Linked DNA regions of Homo sapiens: all the other regions are linked to region 2. Evidence: promoter capture Hi-C in human tissues and cell types (Jung and others, 2019). All regions are on one chromosome and are shown on one strand. The core of a region is centred on a gene start or on the middle of the fragment in contact, and the rest is flanking DNA. Distances in the headings are between cores, read along the strand shown.

The links. Contacts are between HindIII fragments. The study calls those that stand out against the background at their distance.
Region 1: a contact is called between the fragment with the promoter of ALKBH5 here and the fragment with the promoter of NCOR1 in region 2, in 1 of the 25 tissues and cell types used here (dorsolateral prefrontal cortex).
Region 3: a fragment that was not itself captured here is called in contact with the fragment with the promoter of NCOR1 in region 2 in 1 of the 25 tissues and cell types used here (bladder).

What each region holds. Positions count from the first base shown.
Region 1 is chr17:18,182,063-18,185,484 of GRCh38, reverse strand. ALKBH5 (alkB homolog 5, RNA demethylase) reads right to left here and starts at 1,657. Exons shown (of 4, transcript NM_017758.4): 1 at 472-1,657. The coding sequence starts at 1,241. RefSeq lists silencers at 780-931, 1,090-1,179, 1,260-1,559 and enhancers at 825-1,662, 1,770-2,009, 2,070-2,269. The HindIII fragment of the contact is 6,004 bases long and covers 1-3,283 here.
Region 2 is chr17:16,213,528-16,216,936 of GRCh38, reverse strand. NCOR1 (nuclear receptor corepressor 1) reads left to right here and starts at 1,403. Exons shown (of 46, transcript NM_006311.4): 1 at 1,403-1,575. RefSeq lists enhancers at 1,138-1,197, 775-1,690, 1,691-2,607 and a silencer at 1,468-1,937. The HindIII fragment of the contact is 13,683 bases long and covers 1-1,849 here.
Region 3 is chr17:17,242,442-17,246,344 of GRCh38, reverse strand. It overlaps the pseudogene ACTG1P24. Among named protein-coding and RNA genes, the nearest start is that of FLCN, 7.2 kb to the right of the region's middle. The HindIII fragment of the contact is 7,478 bases long and covers 1-3,903 here.

The DNA of each region.
Region 1 (3,422 bases), core at 408-2,907, 2.0 Mb before region 2:
GGGCCTTTGCCTGTGACTACTTTCTCTGTTAAGGAATCCAAAAATGGCAGAACAAGAAAGACTTTTAGATAAATTAAAAAAAAAAAAAATTTTAAAGCATAGATTTGTAAATGGAAGGCCAGAATGGAAAACCGGAAAATCACAAAGGGACTTATGCTAAGAAATGGATGGTGGGAAAAAAAAAAATCAAAGGGAACAGCCTTCTGAAAAGATGGCTTTCGATGAATTCTCAGCCAAGTCAGTGATCCCGTCAAACCTGCCTTCGGGGACAGGATTTCCACATCGGTTCCCTATTTTCTTGCTATAGGTATCTTAAACACAAAACCCTTCTCTCGCTCCCTACAATCTACAAACAGAAGAACTGGTCAGAACTGTAAAAAACGCAGACTCCTACGGGCTGCTGCTTTCTGGGCCAGGGTGGGTAGCTAAGGCAGCAGGCGCAGGGCCGCCCCCTCCACCCGGGTGGGTTACCTGAGCACAGTCACGCTTCCCCTGCGCACCGGCAGGGAAAGCACTGGTTCCGACACCCGAATAGGCTTGAACTGGAACTTGCAGCCGAAGCACAGCGCAGAGTCGCTAAAGAAGGACACGGACACGATGGGGCGCTCGAAGATGTGGATGGGGTCCACGTGAGACACGATGCAGCCGCCGGGCTGGTAGTCGTTGATGACGGCGCTGTTGACGAAGCCCTCGGGGATGACGCGGTGCTCCACCAGCTTTTGGATCACCAGCTGGTGCACCCACTCGGGGATCTCGTCCACGTCGCCCGGCGGGTAGAGGCGCTCCTGGCCGGGCCCGCGCTTCTGCAGCTGGGCGCCGTAAGTGTAGCCTTCGCCGAAGAAGTACTTGTTGCGCAGTGGGGCCCGGTCCACCGTGTGCTCGTTGTACAGGCCCTTCTCAGCGCGGGACACCACCTCGTCAATGCGGGCCTCGATCTTGGCGCACTCGTCCTGGCTGAAGAGGCGCATCTGGCGGATGCCGCTCTTCACCTTGCGCGCCTCCTCCTCCTTCTGCAGCTGCTGCTCCTCATAGTCGCTGCGCTCGGGGTCCGAGTCCTCCTGATACTTGCGCTTGGCCCCGGACACAGGGTAAGGTTCGGCGGCAGCGGCGGCTGCGGCTGCGGCGGCTACGGCGGCTGCGGCAGCGGCGGCGGCCTCCCGGCTGCCCGCCTTATAGTTGTCCCGGGACGTCATGGACTTGAGCTTCTCACGCAGGTCCGTGTAGCCGCTGGCGGCCGCCATGGCCCCCACGACGCTGCTCTAGGGTCCTCCGGGGCGGGCGGGGCAGCCGGGCATGGCTCTAAGGGGACGCGCCCCGGGGCCCCCGGAGGGAGGGGGGTCCTTAGCGCCGAACCCCCATGCGTGAGTGGGGGACCCGGCGGGGGGCGTCGAGGGTCCGGGCGTGGGGTAGGGCCTCAGGAGCGGCGGGTCATGCAACGGTGGCGACAACGGGGCTTCTTCCTCCTCCACCTTCTCCACGTCCCGCGGGGCAGGGGCGCCGGCAGCGCCTCATGCCGCGGAGGGCTGCTGCGGAGACGCGGCCCGACTCCCGACCAGACCCTCGGACGCCCGGCCCGGCCCGCACTTTAAAGCTCTCCGCACGACGTCACGGGCAGCCAGCCCGACGTCCGCCAGCGCCGCTCCTTAGCGGGCTCCTCACCGCGCACGCGCAGTGCTGCCGGCCACCGCGGCTCCGCGCGCTACGGGCATGCGCGTGCGTGCAGGCCGGGTCGGCAGAGGCGCCGGCGCAAGCGCAGACAGGAACCGCTTGCCGTCCGCCGCCCCTCCCCCACTCTCTGAGGGGCTTCAAGGGAACGCTCTCAAATAGCAACCTGTCTTCACGCCGCGCCGCCTCCAGGACCGAAGGGCTCCCTCTACAGGGGTGCGCTCATATTGCCAACAGTGTCGCCGTGCCGCGTCACGGCATCGTCCGAACGCCCGCAGACGCCTCAACCCCAGGGCGCATTCACCAGGGAACCGCCACAACGTAGGCCGCTCCGTTACCTCCCCCTTTGGCGCTTCCACTTCTTTAATTGGGCCGTGGGCCACGCGCCGGGCAGGCCCTGACTGGAGTTTCCGGAAGTCGGTTGGTAATCATGCGTGTCAATCAGGCAGTCTCCTTAGCTACTGTGTCCGTCACTTAATTAGCGGCTGGGCGAGCAGCGAGGACCCCTAAAGGAGAAATGGGTGGTTAAATAAGTGCCTGAATGGAGACTCCACCTGAGTAAAGCCCTTAGAACGCCTAAGGAAACTTCTGAAACCCGCGAAAACTTCTCAGACTGCGGGACCTGCAGCACCCGGCCCCAGTTCTGAACCCAGATAGGAACGTCCGGCAGAAGCCAGACGCGCGTTGTCGGGGTACAAGCCAGCCTGCCGCCGCTGCCGCCGCCGCCCGGAGCGGACGTTTCACGAGTCACGTCCCGGTGACGGCGAGCGTGGGGGCGCGCTGGGGTTGGCGTCGAGCCTCCTTGGTGCTGGAGATGGGCGTGGGGGCACCTCCTACGGGGACTCTGGAAGAAAACTCCAGGAAACGAACGGGCGCAAGGCTAAGGCTAAGCTATAGATAATGACTACAGTCAATTCAAAAAAGTTTTGAAGCAGTCAGCAAAGGCGTTGCCGGGCGCGGGGCCTCACGCCTGTAATCCCAGCACTTTGCGAGGCCAAGGCGGGCGGATCACTTGAGCCCAGGAGTTTGAGACCAGCCTGGCCAACATGGCAACCCCATCTCTACAATAAAATTTTTAAAAATGAACTGGGCGTGGTGGCGCGCGCCTATGGTCCTAGCTACTCAGGAGGCTGAGGTGGGAGGATCCCTTGAGCCCAGGGGATTGAGGCTGCAGAGAGCCGAGCTGGCGCCACTGCACTCCGGCCTGGGCGACAGAGCTGCAAAACAAAACAAAAAGGCGTAGCCGTGCAGGATGCACTGGAGGGCTCCAACAAATGGGGGTCGGGGGGGATCTGCTGGAAAATCTCCCATGTCTCCCAGGATAAAGTTCCCCTGCTTTATTTGGCACTCAAAGCTTTTCTTCAAGACTCTTCTGGCCTTGGCTCCTCCTCTCCTCTCTTTCCATGTACACTGAGCCCCAGCCTGGTCCTCATCCTGTAAGCCAGGTCTACAAACATACTGTGTCTCACCTCCTGGCCTTTGCCCAGGCTGTTTGCCATGGCTGTTGCCCATGCCAGTTCCTTATCACCCGTCTCCCTCTCTCTCTCCCCCTTCCCCTCCTCCTCCTCGTTCTTTTTTGACAGAGTCTCTGTTGCCCAGGCTGAAGTGCAGTGGCACGATCTTGGCTGACTGCAATCTCGACCTCCCGGGTTCAAGACATCCTCCCACACCTCAGCCTCCTGAGTAGCTGGAACTATGTAGAGGCGTGTACCACCACACCCCGCTAATTTTTCTGTTTTTAGCAGAGATGGGGTTTC
Region 2 (3,409 bases), core at 154-2,653:
AATTCATTTCTTAAAACTCGGGCCTTTCTCGTAATTATAGGGTTAGACAGCCCGTTATCCGTATGACAGTTTTCCAAAATAGCCAGTTACACCAACTTTGTTATTCCTTCTCACTTTTGGATGGCTTTCTTTACCTTTTTTTTTTTTTTTGAGAGGCTCTGTCGCCCAGGCTGGAGTGCAGTGGAGCGATCTCGGCTCACTGCAACCTCTGTCTCCCGGGTTCAAGCGACTCTTCTGCCTCAGCCTCCCGAGTAGCTGGGACTATAGGCGCGCGCCACCACGCCCAGCTAATTTTTGTATTTTTAGTAGAGAGGGGGTTTCACCATGTTAACTAGGCTGGTCTCGAACTCCTGACTTCGTGATCCGCTCGCCTCGGCCTCCCAAAGTGCTGGGATTACAGGCCTGAGCCACCGCGCCCGGCCCTTTCTTTTTTTTTTTTGAAACGGTCTGGCTCCGTCGCCCAGGCTGGAGTGCAGTGGCGCGACCTAGGTTCGCTGCTACCTCAGCCTCCCGCGTTCAAGCAATTCTCCCACTTCGGTCTCCCCAGTAGCTGGGATTACTGGCGCGCGCCACCACGCCCGCTTAATTTTTGTATTTTTAGTAGTGACGGGGTTTCTCCATGTTCGTCAGGCTGGTCTCGAACTCCTGACCTTAAGTGATGGCCCGCCTCGGCCTCCCTAAGTGCTGGGATTACAAGCGTGACCCACTGCGTCCGGTCGGGCCTGGCTTTTCTAAAGGAACGTATGCGTGCGGTTACGAGGAACCGTCGTTTCCCCAGCAGGGTGAGGCTGAGCGTGCACTTAACAGTCGCGAGGGCCACAGGCTCCTCTTGCAAGTAACTTAAGGTTAAGGAGCAACATCGTGGACAAATCGGCCTCGCCCAGCATTTCAGTGAGGGCTTGGTGCGAATTCCAGCCAGAGCCCTAGAAAGTATCTTGGGCAGGTCGAAATGCACCCCTCCAGCTCCCAGCCACGAGGGGACCGGCTTCCCTGTACGCAGCTCCGGCCAGAGGAGGCCGCCGCCGCCCCACCACGCCGCGGAGGGGTTTGCAGGGTCCCTTCCACGGCCTGGAGTTTTTCCTTTTCCCACGCCTGAGGAAGGCCTCGGGCGCGCGGAACAGACGGGCAGGCGGGGGGCGCACAAGCCCAGGGCACGATGGCAGCAGCGCTGGATCCGGCTGGGCGCTGCTCGGCCCCGTATCCGTCCGAGAGGACCGCCGCTGCCAGGCCTAGAGGAGACATGAAGAGACCGGGCGCAGCGCGACCCGGGAAGCTCCGCCGAGGTAGGAGAGGCGCCCGGCCAGCGGAGGGAGTTGGTCTCCCAACTCTCCGGAAGGAGGAGGAGCCGGCGCTGGAGCCGCCTTAGCCGCGGCTCCGCGGGCTGGGGGGAGGGAGAGGGGTTGAGTCAAGATGGCGGCCAAGGTGGCGAAGCAGCAGCCGCGGCGGCGGCGGCGGCTGGAGTGAGCGTCCGACTCGCCGCGCCGAACGAGGTCCCGGTGTAGGGCCGCGCGCCGTGGCCGCGTCCCACTCCTCAGGCCGGGGCGCACGTCGGCTCCCACGCTTAGCCAGCTCCCGGTGAGTAGGCCCTGGCGCCTGCAACCCCGGCCTCCGGGCTCCTGCTAGTCCGGGGGCTTCCGAGGGCTCCCGGGGCAGCAGCCGCTGGGACGGTTTCTCCGCCGGGCGGGGGGTGTCGCAGGCCTGGGCAGGTCGGGACCCGTCCTGGCCGCCTGGCCTCTTCCACTCGGCAGCCCAGGAGAGAGCCGGGCGCGGCGGGGAGCTCGGGCTGGGCTAGCGGAGGCTTATGGAGTTTGGAGGAAGAATGGGCTGTGGCCGGGCCGGGGCTGGCCCCGAGGTGTCCTGTGCGGAGGGGCGTGCGGAGCCTACAGGGCCTGCGAGGGAGAGCGGGCAGCCGGTGCCCCGGGTGGGGCCGGCGCAGGTGGCGGGCCTGGGCTCACTGAGGCGGAGTTGGTGGCCGACTTGGAAGTGTAGAAGGGGCTGCGGAGGTTGACAGCCATGGACAAGTGCGTGCAGAGTAAATTAGTTCACCTTTCTAACAGACCGCTTCAGGGTGTAATGGCGAAGGCTGGGTACTGGTGGAGATGGCAAAGATCCGAACACTATACCTTCTGCCGTTTATTGTTGGTGTTTTCTTAAGCGAAGTCCGTAAGTGCACCCCTTTTTGGGGAGAGAGGAATTTGAGAAACTGTAGTTGTGAAATCAGCCTTTATGGAGAGGAGACTGAATTCTTCAAATTAACTGGATCAGGAATAGTCATGTATTAAAGGAATGGATGGGAATAAGTGATATGGACGAAAACTATTTGCTCAGGAAGTGTCAGTTTTCTTTATGTGATGTTGCATGCTGCGGTGCCTCTTCCACAGAGTTAACCTTGGAGAGTAGTAGTATAGGTAATTCTAATCTTTGGGATTAGTATGTAAACCTGCATCAGATTTGCTTCTCTAATTATATCCTAATTATATTGAAATTTACATTCCTTGTGTGCACCCTGGTGAGGCAGTGATGGAAGGCTGAACATGGCACTGTGCAAGGAGCAACAGGCCCGGGATTTAAAAATGCCTACAAAGATTCATTCATTCGTTCAATATATCTTGATCAATAGCTGCTGATGCTGGGTCACATGTGATTGTCCTGTGGATAACTGAAGAGTTGATGGCATCGTTTAATTTTTAATAGCTTTTTAAAATGTTTTGATGTACCTTTTCATGAAGATATTTATTGGATGAACCAACTTGTACTTGCCCGGGCTCAGGAGCAGACCAATTTTAGAATGTTATTTAGACAAGGGTAACAATTACAGAAGAAGTAACCGCAAGTTACTGGAGAGAGAAATCTTGTATCTTTTTTTCTTTTTCTGTTAACATCCGGTGGAAGTTTATTTATTTGTTTTAATATTTATAGTACCCAGTTGCTTGGCCTTGCTTTAAGCACACCTGTTAATGGAAATCAAGATTAATTGTATATATGGATATAGCTATGTATAAAATGCTCACAGTAGGAACTGATTACTTACAATACTAAAATACTCTTTCCTTTTACAAAAGGCTTGCCATATGTTGAACTACTCCCCCGGAGAAAATATAATACAAAGTATCTTGATTCTTGCTCTAACTATGTGATTTTGGAACTTGATCAACCTTTCTGTGCTTCAGTTTCCTCATCTTGAATATTAGGTAAACATCTACTCTCCTAGGGTTGGCTGTTGTGAGCCTAAAGGGAGTTAATAGTTATAAAATTGTTTTAAACAGATTGAAGGGGTTATATTTCTGTGAGGTGGTAACAGCTCCCTCTGGGCTCCTGTAATGCTTTTTCTGCACATCTCTCGCGGCATTTACACTTTCTATCTTGTAGGTATTTATGTACCTATTTTATCTCTTGAGAGCAGGATAGG
Region 3 (3,903 bases), core at 1,010-3,509, 1.0 Mb before region 2:
CAGGCTGCAGTGCAATGGTGCCATCATGGCTTACCTAAACTTCCCAGGCTCAGCTGATTCTCCTACCTCAGCTTCCTAAGTAGCTGGGACTACAGGCGAGCACCACCACAGCCAGCCTTTTTTTTTTTTTTTTTTTTTTGTAGAGATGGGGTTTTGCCATGTTGTCCAGGTGGTGTCAAAAGCACTTTCCAACCTTTAGTGGGTGCTACACTTTTGTAGTCTTGAAAATGGCTTTTCTCCCCCTCTCAACTTACAGTTTTTAAGAGACAAATGGCAGGCTTTCCCACTTTTTCTTGTCAAAGCATATCAGGTAAACTGATAGTTGCATTTTGATTATGTTCAGGGCCTCTCCTGTCACAGGAATTTGGACTAGGATTTACTGATTTAGCCCTGGAATGGTGTGGAGCAGAATAAAGTGTGGTCAGGTTAAAACACATCAAATTTGTTCCTTAAAAAAATCTCTCTCACTACAAACATTCAGTTTTTAAAATGTTTCAAGTTGTCTGGTAAGGCACATTTTCATTATTTAAAAAAGAAACCTCAGCTGTGTGCAGTGGCTTACGCCTGTAATCCCAGCACTTTGGGAGGCCAAGGCAGGTGATCACCTGGGTCAGTAGTTTGAGACCAGCCTGGGCAATATGGTGAAACACCATCTCTACTAAAAATACAAAAAATGAGCCGGGCATGGTGGTGGGTGCCCGTAATTTCAGCTACTCAGGAGGCTGAGGCAGGAGAATCGCTTGAACCCGGGAGGTGGAGGTTGCAGTGAGCCAAGATCATGCCACTGCAATCCAGCCTGGGTGACAAGAGCAAGACTCTATTAAAAAAAAAAGAAAAGAAAAGAAACCTCATGAGTCACATAAAAAGTTACCCTAATAGAGTCCACACTTAGGCTTTGGAGGTCATATGGCCTATTGTAACTGTGGCCATTTTAGTAGTAAAACTTTATTTATAAAAAGTAGGCAGTGGCCAGGCATGGTGGCTCATGCCTGTAATCCCAGCACTTTGGGAGGCCAAGGCGGGTGGATCACCTGAGGTCAGGAGTTTGAGACCAGCATGACCAACATGGTGAAACAGTCTCTACTAAAAATACAAACATTAGCTGGGTGTGGTGGCAGGCGCCTGTAATCTCAGCTACTCAGGAGGCTGAGACAGGAGAATCGCTTGAACCCGGGAGGTGGAGGTTGTGGTGAGCCAAGATCATGCCATTGCACTCCAGCCTGGGCGACAACAGCAAAACTCCATCTCAAAAAAAAAAAAAAAAAAAAAAGGTAGGCAGCAGGCTAGGTCTGACCTGAAGCCTATAGTTTGCTGACCTATCAACTAAACTGTCAAATTCTCTAGCCCTTGAATTAGGACTATTTGTGGGTTGCATCCCTTTCACTTGTTTACGTATACCTGCACTTAGGAAACAAAATATTTAATGGGAAATGATCATTTATCTGTGTAATGAATTATAGACCCTGTTTTATTTTTAAAAAACAATTAGCTTCTCATTATCTGGATCTGAAATCAAAATCACTTAGAATGTGTCTGTGAACTGCTAGTACTTGTCAGTCGTGACTATATAAGTGAAAAGTACTGTGAGCTGCTAATGATGTGGATGCTATTATAATTTTTTACCCAAGGTGGATTCATTAAAATAACTGCATTTTTTGGAAACTTGAACTGAAAGGGGATATGTTATTTAGAACCTTGTCCTAGTACCTGCAAACCCTGAGTCTGTTTGAGGGGAGAGCTGGTCACAATCGTTTCAGCTTTGAATCCCCTGTTCTGTGTTCTGCTTTGTGATTCTTGGGCTAGACCTCTGCAAACCAGCAAGAAGGGGATTAGAGCTCGGGGGAGAAAGTGACAGGCTCCCTGCATCTGCCTCTGTTGAGCAGCATGGTCCAGGCAAGTCTGCTTCCAGTGTGCAGTTTCCCCCATGCTCCTAGAATCAGCCTCAGCACAGCCCCTTAGAGATAAAGGGGCCCAGGAGGCAGGCCTCCCCCATCTTCCCACTGTGCCCTCCTTCAGAATTTTAAATTCTATTCGTCCCAATCTTTTCCCTTTGTTCCCCAACCCTTAAGGGGTGGTATCTGCTCACTGTAGCTACTACCTCAGTGAGACTCCTGAATTTTTTTTTTTGAGATGGAGTCTCCTCTGTAGCCCAGGGTGGAGTGAAGTGGTGTGATCTCAGCTCACTGCAACCTCCACCTCCTGGTTTAAGCAATTCTCCTGCCTCAGCCTCCCTAGTAGCTGGGATTACAGGCACCCACCACCACGTCTAGCTAACTTTTGCATTTTACTAGAGACAGGGTTTTGCCATGTTGGCCTGGCCAGGCTCAAACTCCTGACCTCAAGCAATCCACCCACCTTGGCCTCCCAAAGTGCTGGGCTCACAGGCGTTAAGCCACCGCACCCAGCCGATTTTTTTTGTTTCTTTTACAGCAGTACTTTTATTTTTCCTTACACAATGACGTGTTGCTGGGGCCTGATGTTCTCACATAACAGTAAAAAAACAAAATGTGTTGTCATCTCAAAGAATTGAGAATTGAGTACAAGAAAACCCTACATAAATTAAAGGGATGAATACATTTACAGGTGGAAATACGAACTGCTTCCAACTCAAGACAAGTAGCAGCTCATGGTGTTCTGGCATGAAAACATCAGCTAAGAGAGGAAACTTGGTCCTATGGCTTGGACTTTTCCAACCCTGATAGACCGGCAAGACAGAAACAATTGGTTCAGGAGCCCTTACCAGGCTCTACAGCAGAACACTCTGCCCTGACACATTAATACACTGCACAGATCGGAGACTGCTGGCCACACAGACTCACCAAACCACTGACCTGTCTTCCACAAGCCAGTTCTTACCTCAGCCACGAAGTGACCAAGCCACACGTACTAAGGGTTGAAATCAAAGATGTATAGGGCATTACACAAATACCAAGGAGAACAGTTAACTTGAATACAAGGTCAAAATCAGCAACAAGTTTTACAATCCAGTGCTGATATCAGATACAAACCTTAAGGACAAACTTCTTTCAAAGGCTTATTCCAGTTTCGTGAGGCTAGTATGAGGTGTATGCATTTGCCAGGGGCAAATTTTTTTTTTTCTTTTGAGACGGAGTTTCGCTCTGTTGCCCAGGCTGGAGTGCAGTGGCACAATCTTGTCTCACTGCAAGCTCCACCTCTCAGGTTCACACCATTCTTCTGCCTCAGCCTCCCGAGTAGCTGGGACTACAGGCACCCTCTACCACGCCCGGCTAATTTTTTTGTATTTTTAGTAGAGATGGGGTTTCACCGTGCTAGCCAGGATGGTCTTGATCTCCTGACCTTGTGATCTGCCCACCTCGGCCTCCCAAAGTGCTGGGATTACAGGCGTGAGCCACCACGCCCGGCCTCCAAGGGCAAATTTATACTCTGGAATTAACCCATGCAGTAAATGCTACTCATCGGCTCACAGTCCGTTTAAAAGCGTTTGTGGTGGATGATGGAGGGGCCTGACTCATCTTACTCCTGCTTGCTGATCCACATCTGCTGGAAGGTAGACAGTGAGGCCAGGATGGAACTGCCGATCCACACTGAGTACCTGTGCTTGGGGCGGGGCACAATGATCTTGATCTTCGTGGTGCTGGGCACCAGGGCAGTGATCTCCTTCTGCATCCTGTCAGGATGCCCCAGTACATGGTGGTGCCGCCAGACAGCACGTGTTGGCATATAAGTCTTTGCAGATGTCCACATCACACTTCATGATGGAGTTGAAGGTGGTCTTGTGGATGCTGCAACATTCCATGCCCAGGAAGGAAGGCTGGAACAGTGCCTCCAGACACTGGAACTGCTTGTTGCCAATGGCGATGACCTGGCCATGGGCACCTCACAGCTATTCTCCAGGGAGGAGGAGGATGCGGCGGTGGCCAT